5 separate regions of the Homo sapiens genome follow, and regions 1, 3, 4 and 5 are each linked to region 2. Evidence: promoter capture Hi-C in 16 types of primary human blood cells and fetal thymus (Javierre and others, 2016). All regions are on one chromosome and are shown on one strand. The core of a region is centred on a gene start or on the middle of the fragment in contact, and the rest is flanking DNA. Distances in the headings are between cores, read along the strand shown. Region 1 has its middle 29 kb from the start of PTPRC. Region 2 holds the start of NEK7 (NIMA related kinase 7). Region 3 holds the start of LOC105371677 (a long non-coding RNA gene). Region 4 overlaps LOC105371677 (a long non-coding RNA gene). Region 5 overlaps PTPRC (protein tyrosine phosphatase receptor type C).

Region 1 (2,700 bases), core at 179-2,678, 450 kb after region 2:
TTGATTTATTTACTAATAAAATGTAAGCAACTAATTCATTAGTCTGTAGTATTTACATTTGAGCTGCTAAGATAACTTAATTAATTGTGAATAATAAGAGAATTTTTATCTTTTCTGTTTTTGAACAAGAATCCAATGATTACTATTTTATATTATTAGTAATTTATTAATAATGAATTAGCAGGTATTACCAAACACAGCACTGCTTCTTGAGAATCACTATATGTTATTGTATCATAAAGACAGAACCAAAAACCAATGTCCAAATAAAACCAAAAACAAAAGCCAAAACCATCAAACAAATAAACAAAACTGAGGCAACTTCAGGGGCTTTGAGTCTGGTTGGAAAGGACTTCTATTGCAACAAATGCTGATATTTGTTAAATCATTAAGATTATTTTATTTACAGAAGAACATAAAAAATAAGAATCTGTGTGTAATGCATGGTTTGTTGAGGTCTTGTCTTTTGATCCCATGGTGCCTGTAGCTTGTCTTTTGATCCCATGGTGCCTGTAGCTCTCCCTTACCACCTGTGTGCCCAAGAGGAATTGTCAGCTAGCTTGAATTGGCCTCACTCTACCTCTTACACACATCACATCCAGACACTGCTCTTGCTCCAGAGGATTCAACTACCATCTTTGTCCATGTGGAATTCCAAGTGGCAGACAATGAATAGGCCAAAGCACCTCATCCGCTGGATTCGAAAAAATAATGTGGTAGGTGAAATCTCCATTCTTGTTATACTGTTCTTTTAGCTTCTATAGCACATTCATTTTGTGAAAGTCAAGGGGACTCTCACAGGAAATTCGGATGAAGGAAAGATAAAAGCTAAAGTTCTAGCCAACTTCAACAACCCCATAGGCCTCATAGAGTAAATCTTTTAAAAGCTAGCTCCTCCAGAACAGGAGTGGAGTGGGGCCCATAAAAAGCCAGCCCAGGTCATCTGCCTCCAATGCACATCTGCACACTCCCAAATCTGTCTATCCCTTGCCAGTCTCATGCTTCCATCCTTTACTGAAGGTAAAAGCTTCAGTAAAACTCTACGCCTTCACAAAGTAAGAGAGATCATTCCCAGGATCCTTCAGAATTCCAGCAGGCTTGAGGATGTCCTTTATATCCCCTTTCATATTAGAGGTTTGCATACATTACAAAACATTTAAATTAACCTTTACTGACTGCTTTTTCTGTATATCCCCATACCTGAACCCACTTGGGGTTACACTTAATGAATGTTATTATTTTAATTTAGAAACTTTTAGAAATAAGGAGGTTTGGACAAAGGGTTGTCATTTCCTTCTGCCACATGCCCTAACATATTTATAATAATAAAATGAACAAGTTACATATAAATAACGATTTATGCATGTTTGCTGAAATATTTCAGTATGTCAGAGCAAAATAATATTCATATTGTACTTTCATATTTTATAATTTAAGCTCCTAAATTCTTAAAATTTGCCAATTTCAAAAACATTCTGTTTTCAAAAGATGGTACCTAACATTGTAATGATTATGCTATTTTCTTTTTAGCTGTCAGTATTTAATTGTGTGAAATAAATTATGTGGAAGAAAAGCAGATGTACTGGTGAACTATTTTCTGACAGGTTTTTTTAGTTAAATGTCAAGAATTTAGGTCATTTGGGTAACTGAAGTTTTCTATTACTTGGCAGGAATTTGAAGAAAATTCTAAGAATTGTAGTAGCTATTTTTGGAAAGTGTCTACTTTCATATGAAAATCCTGTCTTTAGAACATGCATAAATTCAGTGACACTCTTCCACACTTTCTTGCTCCCTTGCTATTTCTTTTTTTCGTTTCATAGCAGGAGCCTAAAGCTTTTATGATTTAGCTGGTCTTCTTCATCGAAAGGAATACAGAAAGATCTTACTTTTGCAAATTTTATAAAAACAAAACCACCTAAATATCTTCTAGGACTTTGAAAAGGGCTCATATAAGCCAGAGACCTTGAAATACTTCAATAGCTTCCAGGTAACTTTACCTCTGTTTCATTTCTGAGCTCTTGAACAGTGGAATCCAGTATCTGCCTTTATTTCTTCAACATGAGATCATGTTCTTGGACAGGACCCTTACATAGCTGCACACATTTACTGAGAGAGAACCAAAGAAAGGGATTCTGATTTAAAGTGTCTAGATTGTAGGGTTGACTCTCCCTTCTGCTTGTCCTTCACCAGAACAATTTACCTCTGGCCGAGTGATCTATTTAGTTTGTTGGGAATAGACATAAAGGAGTCTGGCCAGGCAGGAGCTTCTTTATTTTGCAATGTGTTCTTGAGTCTCAGATGGTTCAGTTCGGATTCAACCTTGATATGTGTTATGAAAATACAATTAAAACCAAAATCATCTCCTAACCCAGAAATTCTCTCCACAAAGGTACTAGAGCTAAGCATTAGAAGACAAGCATTAAGCCAGACTATGTTGCACTTCACAAGCAATCTGCTAAGAGAGTACCAAGGCGGAAAGGACTCTCGCCCCCATATGTATAGCCAAGGAGATGTAACCCATTGCATGCACGTTTTCAATAAAAACAATAACTAGTCTTCAAGTAAGAAGACTTAACACTCACACATAATTTGTCATAACTTTCCCATGGTGATTAAGGTCAACATTTCCGTTAGCTGATTGACTTTATCCAGGGGAGAAACAAACTTATCATGTCTCTGTGACAAGAGGTAGTTTTACAA
Region 2 (2,700 bases), core at 115-2,614:
TATTTTTTTGAGACGGATTTTCGCTCTTTCACCCACGCTGGAGTGAAGTAACGCGATCTCTGCTCACTGCAACCTCCTCCCCGCCTCGGGTTCAAGCGATTCTTTTGCCTCAGCCTCCCCAGTAGCTGGGATTATAGACTCCTGCCACCACGCTCGGCTAGTTTTTGTATTTTTAGTAGAGACAGGGTTTCGCCATGTTGGCCAGGCTGGTCTCGAACTCCTGACCTCAGGTGATCACCCCCCCCCCCACTTGGCCTCCCAAAATGCTAGGCTTACAGCCATGAGCCACTGCGCCCGGCCATTTTTCTTTTTAAAAATAAACTTTCCAGATCTTAATTTCATGGCTTTAACATTTTAAATGTTTGAGGTATAATCTACTCATTCTTGGCTCTAATCTTTTTGTCAGGGAAGTTAAACTAGTGAGAGACCTATGAACAACAGCAACAATTTAATGAGCACGTCTTATATGCCAAGCTTTGTGGTTAAGCACTTTGCTTTATCTCACTTAATTCTAACTATGGTCCTAGAGGTTGGTATTACAACTAATCTCCTTTTACAGAGAGTTACTGAGACTTGGAGAGGTTAAATAACTTGCAGCCAGGTCACAAAATTAATCACTGAGTTGAGACGACAATTAAGGTATGGCCGACTCCATACTGCCTCCTAGCCGTCTCCTCGAGTAGTTCATGCCCTGTTAACTTAAGTCGTGAAGCTGCTGGTGTCAAAGCATTCCTTTTGCAGTTTCGTGTACTAGGGTTCTGGGTGATTTTGCACATATTTATTTCAAAGATCCTCCGTACCACACCAGGGAGTTTACCTTCTGGAATGTTGTTGAAGCCCCTGTCCTCTATGCTGGGACACTTTCATGCAACGTTTGCTTAGCCAGACTCAGGAAAACGCCTTTTTTTTTTTTTCTCATTTCCCTGCACTCCACATTAAACACAGAGGTAGTTTAAATCACCTGGTAAAAGAAGATGGGATCACAAACGCTGTGGTCCAGAAGGGAACATCAGTAAGTCGGTTCACCGCTTGCAAGTGGGGGCACTTACATATAAATGAAGAAAAAACAAGTTCTTAAAAAGCAGCCGACCCTGGGTTCTTAAAAAGCAGCCGGGGAAGAGGGCTCAGGGGACCGGACGCGGTGCCCCGCACCACGCTAGGCCTGACAACCGGAAGAGAGGGGCCAGGAGGGGCTCCTCCAGAGCGACTTCGGCTCCAGTAGGGAAACCGCCGAGGCTCCCCCAGCTCCAGGGAGCGCCGGGGACGCAGGCGGGAAGCCTCCATCGGGCAGCCGGCCTGGACTCACGACGCGGGGTGGGGCCGGCGCCCGCCCCGCCCCTCTCCTCGGGGATGCCGGGATGTTTACACTCCTGACAGCGGCGGCAGCAGGAGGAGGATCGGGAGTCGCGGGAGGATGGGCCGCCGCTAGGCTCGCACTCCGGACGCGCCTCGCAGTGCGCAGGGTGGGTGCCCCGCGCCTGCAGCGTCCGCCGGGGCGGCGCGGCGGGAGGTGGCCGACAGGCTCCGGGCCTCGCAGCCTCAGCCCCCGGCCCAGCGCGCTTTCCGACGGCGGCGCCGCGCCGAGCCACCCGCCCGCCCAAGGTCTCTCGCGGGCGGGAGAACGGAAAACTCCCAACTTCCTGGTGAGTCGCTGCCCAGGGTTCAGGCGCCCGGACCGGGCAGCTCCTGCCGGGAGGGGCCGCCTGCGGGAGTCGGGCCGGGAGAGGGAGGTCGGGACCGCGCGGGGCGGCCTCCGGGATACCCTCGCTCGGGGTAGGTGGGGCGGGGCGCGCTGCGCTCGAGGCGGATGGGGGTTTCGGTCTTGTTCGTTGGCAGCGGTGGGAGGGGGCGGCAGGAAACTTCATACCTGGCCCCGGCTCTAGAGGCCCGAGGCCGCCAAGGGCGCCGCGGTAACTAAGAAACTCCGTGGCCACGGCGGCGGCGGCAACAGGTCTTTGGTTTCGGGACCCGAGGAACTTAAGCGAAGTCCCGCCTTCCGGCGGATGCTCATTGGCGACGTCGGTTATTTATCTCTCGCGGATTGGTGAAGTCCGTCTGTCAGGATTCGGCAGCAGCCCGACTTAGGAAAGTGAAGTGCGCTGGGAGAGAGTGGGTGGTGGGAGCCGGCAGATAGGGGAGAATCCGAAGTGGCTTCAGAAGTACAGGGAGCGTGAGAGGTCTGTCGGAGAATGAACTTGGGAGAGACTCGGGATTACAAAATGTCGGAGAGAGGGATTGCGAGGCAATAGCGAACATTGCTGGTGATGGTGGCAATGGAAAAGAAATTGAAAACTGAGGCCAAAGTCAGAGAAGGGTAGCCAAAGGAAAACAGAGAAAAGTGACAAGACCGTATGACCGCAGAACAGTGTAAGGAAGCGAGCACAACCTAGAGGATGCTGCCTTGAGAGCTAAAGAACTTCTGTTGCCTCTGTTACACTGTAGGCCTTCACTCCTAAAACCGCAGCATCCTCTATTTAGTCTTGCACTGGGAGCGTACTGGGGTCGCGGAGAGATGATGTATCGTGTTCTCACCTTGCTGTAGTCCTCACTGGGGAGAAATGCTAAAAAATATACTTAGTTTACAGTAAGATACATGTTACTGTCCTTGCGCAATTCTGGTGACTGAACTGAAAATCAGAAATACACAGAAATAAAATGATTATTCTCCTTTGAGGTTACTGAGCTCAAGGATGCAATTGA
Region 3 (2,700 bases), core at 36-2,535, 360 kb after region 2:
TCAGTGGAAGTGCTAGCATGATAAAACAGGCTCAGTGAAACTTCTGTTCCATTGGATTCTACTTAACTGAACATGAAGAAACAGTTTAGTTACTCTAGTTTAAAAATAAGGGAATTTCATAATGGTCTATTTAAACTGTCTGCAAAAGAAGTTACAGTGATTTTTCTGGCATTCTCTCCCTCGTAACCTCCTTCCACACTCATTTTGTCTTTATGTCAGCCTATTTGGTTTAGTTTTTTTCAACTATAATAATAATTACCATTATTATAGACACTTATATTTGCTACTTATATATGAATCCAAATAGTCTAGTCTGAGGGATGGTGATCTTAATTACTGTGTTAAACTACACAGTATTAAATATTCTTTATGTTCACAATACCTATTGCAGGAGTTTAGTTTATTAGATGGCACAGAGAACCCCAGTTCACTCAAAATGTACCTTATCTTAAACTGGACTTGAGGAGCTGGGTCACTGGAAGTGGTAGGAGTAAGAATACAGGACTTGTCACTTTTGGTAATAGCCATGTCTGTATTTCTACTACCAATCTCAAATGTATGTTATCACATAATTCAATAATTATGGCTGAATAAGTGAGTGAGTAAATGAATAGTTAACATTGCACGGGACATAAGGTCCTCCAGTCATTTATGTCATTGATAAGTAGCTTTTTCAGGTGACTCTTGGAAGTAAGCAAACTCACTACACTAGTAACTCCTTGCATTGCCAATATTAGGCAGTCCCAAGAGAGCTGAGATGGAAGAACAGGAAATAGGAGAAGCATGCAGTTATCACAGTTATATTTCTTCAAGTTGATAAAATGGAATCATTATTTTTGTAATGAGCTCTATGCTTAGATTTCTATCTTTCTTTTAAGTGGTTTATTTCCAATAATTTTCTTTTCTTTAAGTTTAGGGACACAGTAGTCTTTCAAGAAGAATTATTTCAGTTCAACTTTAGAGTTAAAAGACACAGGACAAGGGAGCTAATCTCAAGTCTTTGATGATGAATTTAGAGGTGAAATCAGACTACCTGCCTACTCTCTTCCTGCAGTTGAGCAACTCACCATGACCAGAGGAAAACACACAACTGACTTAATCTCATTTTAAAACTATGACAATAAGCCTCATTTAGACATACAGTGCTGCTTGATAATCCTATTACACTTTCCTAGCATAGTAATCTTCTTACTTTCTAAAATGACCATTTTACCCTTTCTCGTGTTTGATAAGTCCCCTAAAATTACTCCTCATTCTCAGCTGATCATTGTCCTCGAATTTAGTTTGAAATTAGTGGTAAATAGGAACTTTCTCATCTTCCTACCACTAGATCTACTTACCTACTATGTTTGTCAATCCATGCCCATGGTCATCTTCCTGTTGAAGGCCAATTCTTCTACTTCGGATCTGAATTCTAGGCTTCCTGCCTTCTCAAGGACTTTGCTTCTGCAATAGTTCCCCTCTCTATTCGTCATAGAGATTCTTTCTCCTCTAGAGGAATTTCAATCAGCATATGAATATGCGATAACATTTCCTAGTCCAGACAAGAAACACGTGCTTGACACACATCTGTCTCAAGCTGCAGCCCCATTTCTCTGATCATTTTTATAGTTTTGTAGTTATCTATAACTGCTATCTCTAGCTTTCTCACCACACTTTCTCTCCTCAAACTCCTCCTCCACATATGTAAATCTAACAGTCACATCTCTGTCCTATTTTACTTGAACACTAAGCAGCATTCAAGACAGTTGGTCACCCTCTCCTTTTTAAGGCAATATTCAATCGGTATAGCAGTTAGCTATTGCTTCATAACGCATCACCCTAAAACTCAGTGGCTTAAAATGTTTATTATTGCTCATGAGTCTATGAGTTTTCCGGGTGGCTCATACGATGTCCTCTTTGCTCATGCCTGCATTCATGGTCGGTGGCAGGTAATGTGGCTGTGCTGATTTAGGCTGGACTCTGACATGTTGGGGGTTGGCTAGACCTAGAATGGCCTCAGCTGGGATATTTCAAAGGTGGCAGCTTTCTGCACACTCTGGCCAACTCTCTTCTACTAGCTCTATCCATCTAGAAAGTAATGGCTGTGATGCATTGATGACAATTCCTGACTTTGTGTGTATTTGTGTGCTAACATCGAGAATAAAAACCGAAATCCTTGCATTCCTTTGCAAGCCTGTAAATTGCATGGTTTTGTTTTTAAGTGCAATGGAAATGAGTAAGAACTCAATGGAATAATTTTTCATTTTGTAGTTTCTGATTGTGCAAAGGATCAAAACAAGGGTAAAGACCAATTAAAAACATGCTAACACTATTCTATTTCTGTGTGAAGATCTATCGGAACAGAAAAAGCCTTTTAGTATAAGTATACGTACAAAAAAGTCAACTTTTTTTCTGTGACTGAGAAAGCTCTCACAGATAAGTGAGCTAGCTCTGAAATACATAAAACCTTTTCATATGTAAATAAAGTAAAACCTGGCAGCTCTACCATCTGTGAAGGTGTGAGAGTTCTTAGAAAATGACTCATTCAGTTAGGCAAAGATGTGAAACCATATTTGAATGTAAAAATATGCAAACTACACAGAATCTAGGATATTGGGGGCAGCAACAGCACATACTCTTAACAATACAGTGTTTAGAATAAACGTGAGATTGTTGAGAAATTGACAAATACTACAGTAGTGAATGAAAAAACTAAAA
Region 4 (2,700 bases), core at 175-2,674, 310 kb after region 2:
TTTTGAAATATACGTTCTCAGAGAGGCTTTAGAACCGAGATACAAAGAGGAAAATGTTCACTGAAGAGAATAAACAACACATAGATGAGAGAATTGTTTCCACCTCAAGTAAACAAACAAACCTCTATTTTCCAAACAGTTTCTGCCTTGATTGCCGTCCATTCCTTTATAAAATGGTGGCAATATTTTCAGAACTTTATGTAAAATTTATGAGGGAAACAGGCATAGTTAAGACACTCTTGATTTGGAACCATTGCTGATCAAGGGACAAAATGTGACATATTTACATATTTTTCTTCAGAATTGAAATAGAATAATGTTTTCTATTTCTCTGCACATTAAAATTTTAAAAGCCCTTGCATGTGTTATTTCATCTCCCAACCACACTGTGCAGTATCATTAGCCTCATTTTAGAGTGGGTAGCCGAATTAGCATTCAAACCCTGTCTCATACCCTCCAATGCACTGACAAAGCTACATGTGCCTTTGCCTTTTTTTTTCCTTAGGGGTTTTTGAGAGCTTAGATCTGAAACAGTAAGAAGAGGAGTAGGGTTAGGAAGTGAGTGTAAGGGGAGGAAGAATTAAATGCATACATAGGGAGAGAGGGTCACTCACACTGCCTGCAAGAGAGGCAAGCAGGGAAAGCCTTATGCAAAGTTTCATACAGAGCGTCATCACCCATGGTGTCAGAGTTATCTAGAGAATGGGACAATAATTACGACTGTTGTAAACAATCCAGCCTTAATGAAATATCCTTAAATACAATATTCAGAAGTATCAAACACTAAATGAGAATTCCTAAAGAGTGGATGAAAATTCAGTACAGAGATCCATTAACGTATTGAGTAGCTTTATATCAATTGCTGCTAGTCATATGTAATCAATTTCTTTTTCCTACCCATTCTTGTTCATTTCAGATAATTCACTTTGGTTTTGATGTTACTAGAGATGCAAAGTTGTATTTTATAAATATTTTTCAGTTAAAAATTGTTTCATAGTATAGGTTTTAAAATGTGATAATAAAGCTTCATTTTGAATAGAGTTTTGCTTTAATCATTGTAGATCAGCCTTAATGTACTCAATTAAAAGTAGTTTTCTCATTATCATAAATGTTCTAATATGCATTTCCACCTATCCCTAATTGCCTATCCTAGGGGAAAGTCCTTTGCCATTGCAGCACTAAGTCACCGTAAATGAAAAAGCATGCTTAAATACTAAAATATTTATGATCTAGTCTACTTGCATTATCAACTCATCACAACTTATTGGTAAGCAATTGCAGTGCCTCTTGGCTAAAAAAGCAATGCCAGAAGTGGTAAGGCTCATGCTGACAGCTGTGTCTGGGCTGTTGCTAGCTACTTCAGTACTCTTTGCCCTTGGCAAAGAACTTAGCGAGAGAACAATAAAACATATTGTTGTAAAACAGTAAAAGGTACCCAGTTTGCCAGTTTGCATATTTCTCTGCAGCTACCCATGATACAGGTAGCTATGGGCAGAGCTTGCAGCTTTGCCAGACTTGCTGGCTTTGAACAAAAGTATTTTGTTTCAGGCCATTCTATTGGGTGGGTTCCTGTGGGTATTTTGAGGAAGACTAGGGAAAGAGGTGTTTGTGTGTTTGTGTGTGTGTGTGTGTGTTTTACTTTGTTTTTACTGTTTTTTAACAACAAATCATGAATTAATTTACCCCATACGAAACCTAAACAAAGGAAAAAAGCCTTTGGGAATCATCTTTGAAAAGAGCTGGCAGCCAGGAGAAAGAAAGAAGTTTGCTACAGCAGTTAGGAGAACATATTTGTTTGACTGAATTTATTTTTTATCATCCACTGTAAGCTTTCATTTGACTTAGCTGTTGTGCTTTGTGCCACAAAGCTAGGTCTGTCCATGTCATGGAGGCCCTCCTTCCTGGAATCTCAGTCCACCAGCACAGTATAAACTTCCATTTACAGTGAACGCGTGGAATACCTTGGCTGTGCTGGCAGAAAAAGGGAGCTGATGCCAAGTGAGCTGCAACCACAAAAAAATCATCCAGAAAAAATTTGCAACTCAGAATGAGCTAATAAAGAAATCTGTTTTTTGATGTTTCTGGAACAAAAGCATGAATTATTTTAAATTTTATTTTATTTTATTTATTTATTTATTTTTTGCTTTCCTGAAAATATCAGCCTTCTGTCTTGTCTAAACTTTTGCAGGGTATTACCAAAAACCATCTTTGGTATTGAACATGTTTAAACTTTATTATCCTCTTGTAAATCTGGCATCTGTGGGTAGATTCCAGAAATCAACCATCTCTGCATCATCTAGAGGACAGCACAGAGCCTTGCATGCAGTATCTGTGGATGGTCATTTGTTGAATGCATGAATTTACAAAACATACTAGCCATTTATAAAAAGATTTTTTGAAATTAAATTAAGGTGAAAACAGTAAAAGATAATGTTATATATTAAACAAGCATCTTCTAGAAGTGGCATAACATAGGTAAATATGTAATTTGTGCAAGTATCAGTGAAAGTACCCAACCAAGTTTCATACCTATGTATCTGTTCTCCCTTAATTATATTTTAGTTTTTCTGTGGGCCATCAAAAACAGCCAACTTTCTCTATTTTTAAAAAATATAATTTTAAAAAATTATTCTCTTTGTTACAAAATGAAAGTCCAATCTAAAAGCAGATAATGACTTTGAAAGGAAATAAAAATTAACA
Region 5 (2,700 bases), core at 73-2,572, 490 kb after region 2:
TTATTTATTTTTCTTTTTTAGCAACAAATGAGTTGGATTCTATGTTTCATTTTAACGTGTTAAAATTAGTTTAGTGCCTACAGGAAATAATAAACTTTTGGGGAACAAAATTTATATTGTATGCTGTAAAGGCATAAAGAAATAGAGCCAAATGTAGAGAGCCATCAATGGTAACTCTATGCATAATTCAAATATTTTATTTAATATCTAAAATGCACACACGGACAAGGCCAAAGTTAATCTTTGCCACGGCAACAACCAGGCAGGGTTCAGTTTTACTCAAGACTTCCTAATCCTCTTGCTCTGTGCCTCTTTGCCATGGCAACTGGAAGCCAAACTTTGTTTAGAATTTCTAAATAATGTTAGGGGACAATGATGGTTTTAAGAAGGCAGGTGAAGGTGAGTGTTCTCTGGTTCTAATAAAGTTGTAATGCCAGGCAGATCTACCACACTATAGCATGGCAGTTAGGAGTATATGAGTTATGGTATGTGAGGTATATGATGAGTTTTGTTATGAGTCATAACAGTTAAGACTCATTTCCTGGACATAATTCTTCATTTTTCCATCTGTATTAAAAATATATATCTCATGTTATAAACATGGACTGTGCCTTGCACATCACAGACATTCAATGAAAATTATTTAATTGAATTTGGTAAGCAGTCCTATTAAGTTCTAAATACTCCATAATTTAGAGATTTGGGAATGTGATTAGAATTACTTATTAATTTGAAAAAAAATGTCCTACTAAAAACCTGCCTGTGACCTTTATCATTGCTAAAGTTTGAAATGTACTTTGTTACAGGAAAGACTACGGCTAGGGCCTATATTATCTTTTTCTCTTTTGTTCTGTGTAAGTAAGTATAGGGGCAGAGTAGTTAGCTTGAACTTAGTTCTTTCTTTGTTCTGGACTATTTGCTATCCTCTCACCAGTGACAATTAACCAGTATAGAAATATAGATGTTTCTACATTGTTCATATACTTGAACATATATTTCTTTATGTAGATACTCACACATAAACTAGTTATATATTTGTGGGTTATATATACTAGTCAATCTATCTATCTGTCTATCTATCTATCTATCTATCTATCTATCAGTTCTCCATGTTTGTCTATTTGGCGTTCCCATGAACTTCAGACCTTCGCCTGTGTTCTCTTTTCTCCATTTGGTTACGTATCATTGCCTACTATGTGTTGATCACTCTGATTCTCCATCTCTAGACTCATCCCTCAGAAACACGGAACTTACTACCTTTCCTAAATCCAGACATTAACATGCTCCCCAAGTCCTGAAATTTTGCTTTGTAATAATCTCTAATAACTTCTTGCTTTGACACCTCCATTGCCATCATCTTAATTCATGGCTTTATTATTTCTCACCTGTAAAATTGTAATAGTTTTTTTAATCAGTCTGAAGTCTCATCCTTTTTTTAATGTAATCTACAGCTTAAAAAGTAAAATAAAAAGTGAAGGGTTACTGATTTCTTCTCATTGCCTTTGGTATAAATTCTAATCTTTTTTGCCAGAGAAACTGGTTCCACTAATGATCTGGGGGCTAGGCCTGGAGCTGGGAAGGGATCTTTTTTCTTTTCTTTCTTTCTTCCTTTCTTTCTTTCTTTCTTTCTTTCTTTCTTTCTTTCTTTCTTTCTTTCTTTCTTTCTTTCTTTTTTCTTTCTTTTTCTTCTATGATTGATTAAAAGAAAACAAACAGGAGGTAGTTTTAACACCCACCTCTATACTTTCTCAAGGTGTTTAAGGTTCTGGGCAAATCCTACTTCTTCTATTATGTTCTCTTATGTCACTTTTGCCACAAAATATTTCCATTGAATTGCACACTTTTTATCACCTTTTCTTGGCATTTTTCAAGTCATTTCAATCTGCTCTTTTTTGTGATGATGATTGATGATGATGATGACATGTGAATTAGTGGATTTCTTGACATTGTAACCTACATGAAATCAGGTATAGGAGACACAAAAGGCATAAACTCATAGTTCCCATACCTAATTTTTCACCAGACACTGAATAAATCATAGATTAAAAAAATAAAACTGCATATTGTAGTGACAAAGGAAAGGAAAATTTTCAAAGAGGGAAGTCAAAAAGAGGGAGAATATGAGATAAAAAAATTAACCAGAGGCGAAGTGGGAGGATGAAGACAGCAGGACTATTTTGTCCAGATTAAATTAAGTTGATTTTGGATCTAGATGTTTACAGTCTTGCCTTTTTGTTTTTGTTTGTTTGTTTGTTTGTTTTTTCTTTGCTCCCTTTCTTACTCTCCTTATCTCACCTCTCGTCTGGAAAGAGCCTCCTGACTTCCTAAAAGTTCATAGTTTGAGAATGTTTTTCCTAAATTTTCTTTGATCTGCTCTTTGGACATTCTAGGTAATGTAATTTGGAGGGTCAATTTTATTTTTCAGATACACATACCCATAGGAGAAAAAGCAAGGAATGGGAGGGAAATACAAATGTAGCGGAGTGATAACACAAACAGATCAGGTCCAGTCATGGCAATTGCTGGTTTGAACACTGATGCTAGTGCTCTGGGATTGCTTGCAAGGGCAGATGGAATATGGTGCACCCTAGGTGTTGCATTATTTGCACGACAAAAGTTTGTAGAGAGCTGGGAATAATTTCTTTACAGACAGTGTGGTGATGAATGTCAATCTGAGTAGGTAAGGGGCAGAGATTTGTA

What was found. Contacts are between HindIII fragments. The CHiCAGO score rates a contact against its expected background, and 5 or more counts as called.
Region 1: a fragment that was not itself captured here is called in contact with the fragment with the promoter of NEK7 in region 2 in 3 of 17 cell types (naive CD4 T cells, fetal thymus and activated CD4 T cells); the score reaches 7.6 in naive CD4 T cells.
Region 3: a fragment that was not itself captured here is called in contact with the fragment with the promoter of NEK7 in region 2 in 4 of 17 cell types (naive CD8 T cells, total CD4 T cells, naive CD4 T cells and 1 more); the score reaches 7.5 in naive CD8 T cells.
Region 4: a contact is called between a fragment that was not itself captured here and the fragment with the promoter of NEK7 in region 2, in 12 of 17 cell types (endothelial precursors, megakaryocytes, M1 macrophages and 9 more). The highest score is 16.3, in endothelial precursors.
Region 5: a fragment that was not itself captured here is called in contact with the fragment with the promoter of NEK7 in region 2 in 8 of 17 cell types (monocytes, fetal thymus, erythroblasts and 5 more); the score reaches 7.5 in monocytes.

What each region holds. Positions count from the first base shown.
Region 1 is chr1:198,608,917-198,611,616 of GRCh38, forward strand. No RefSeq gene overlaps it. Among named protein-coding and RNA genes, the nearest start is that of PTPRC, 29 kb to the right of the region's middle. The HindIII fragment of the contact is 806 bases long and covers 1,026-1,831 here.
Region 2 is chr1:198,155,634-198,158,333 of GRCh38, forward strand. NEK7 (NIMA related kinase 7) reads left to right here and starts at 1,365. Exons shown (of 10, transcript NM_133494.3): 1 at 1,365-1,643. RefSeq lists enhancers at 551-610, 2,041-2,090 and a silencer at 1,201-1,800. The HindIII fragment of the contact is 2,805 bases long and covers 473-2,700 here.
Region 3 is chr1:198,518,211-198,520,910 of GRCh38, forward strand. It overlaps LOC105371677 (a long non-coding RNA gene), which reads right to left and starts at 1,600. Exons shown (of 2, transcript XR_922398.3): 1 at 1,341-1,600. The HindIII fragment of the contact is 3,154 bases long and covers 1-2,700 here.
Region 4 is chr1:198,466,166-198,468,865 of GRCh38, forward strand. All of the region lies in intron 1 of LOC105371677 (a long non-coding RNA gene), which reads right to left. Among named protein-coding and RNA genes, the nearest start is that of ATP6V1G3, 73 kb to the right of the region's middle. The HindIII fragment of the contact is 805 bases long and covers 1,023-1,827 here.
Region 5 is chr1:198,641,300-198,643,999 of GRCh38, forward strand. The region is part of intron 2 of PTPRC (protein tyrosine phosphatase receptor type C); the gene reads left to right. Among named protein-coding and RNA genes, the nearest start is that of PTPRC, 3.6 kb to the left of the region's middle. The HindIII fragment of the contact is 4,043 bases long and covers 1-2,700 here.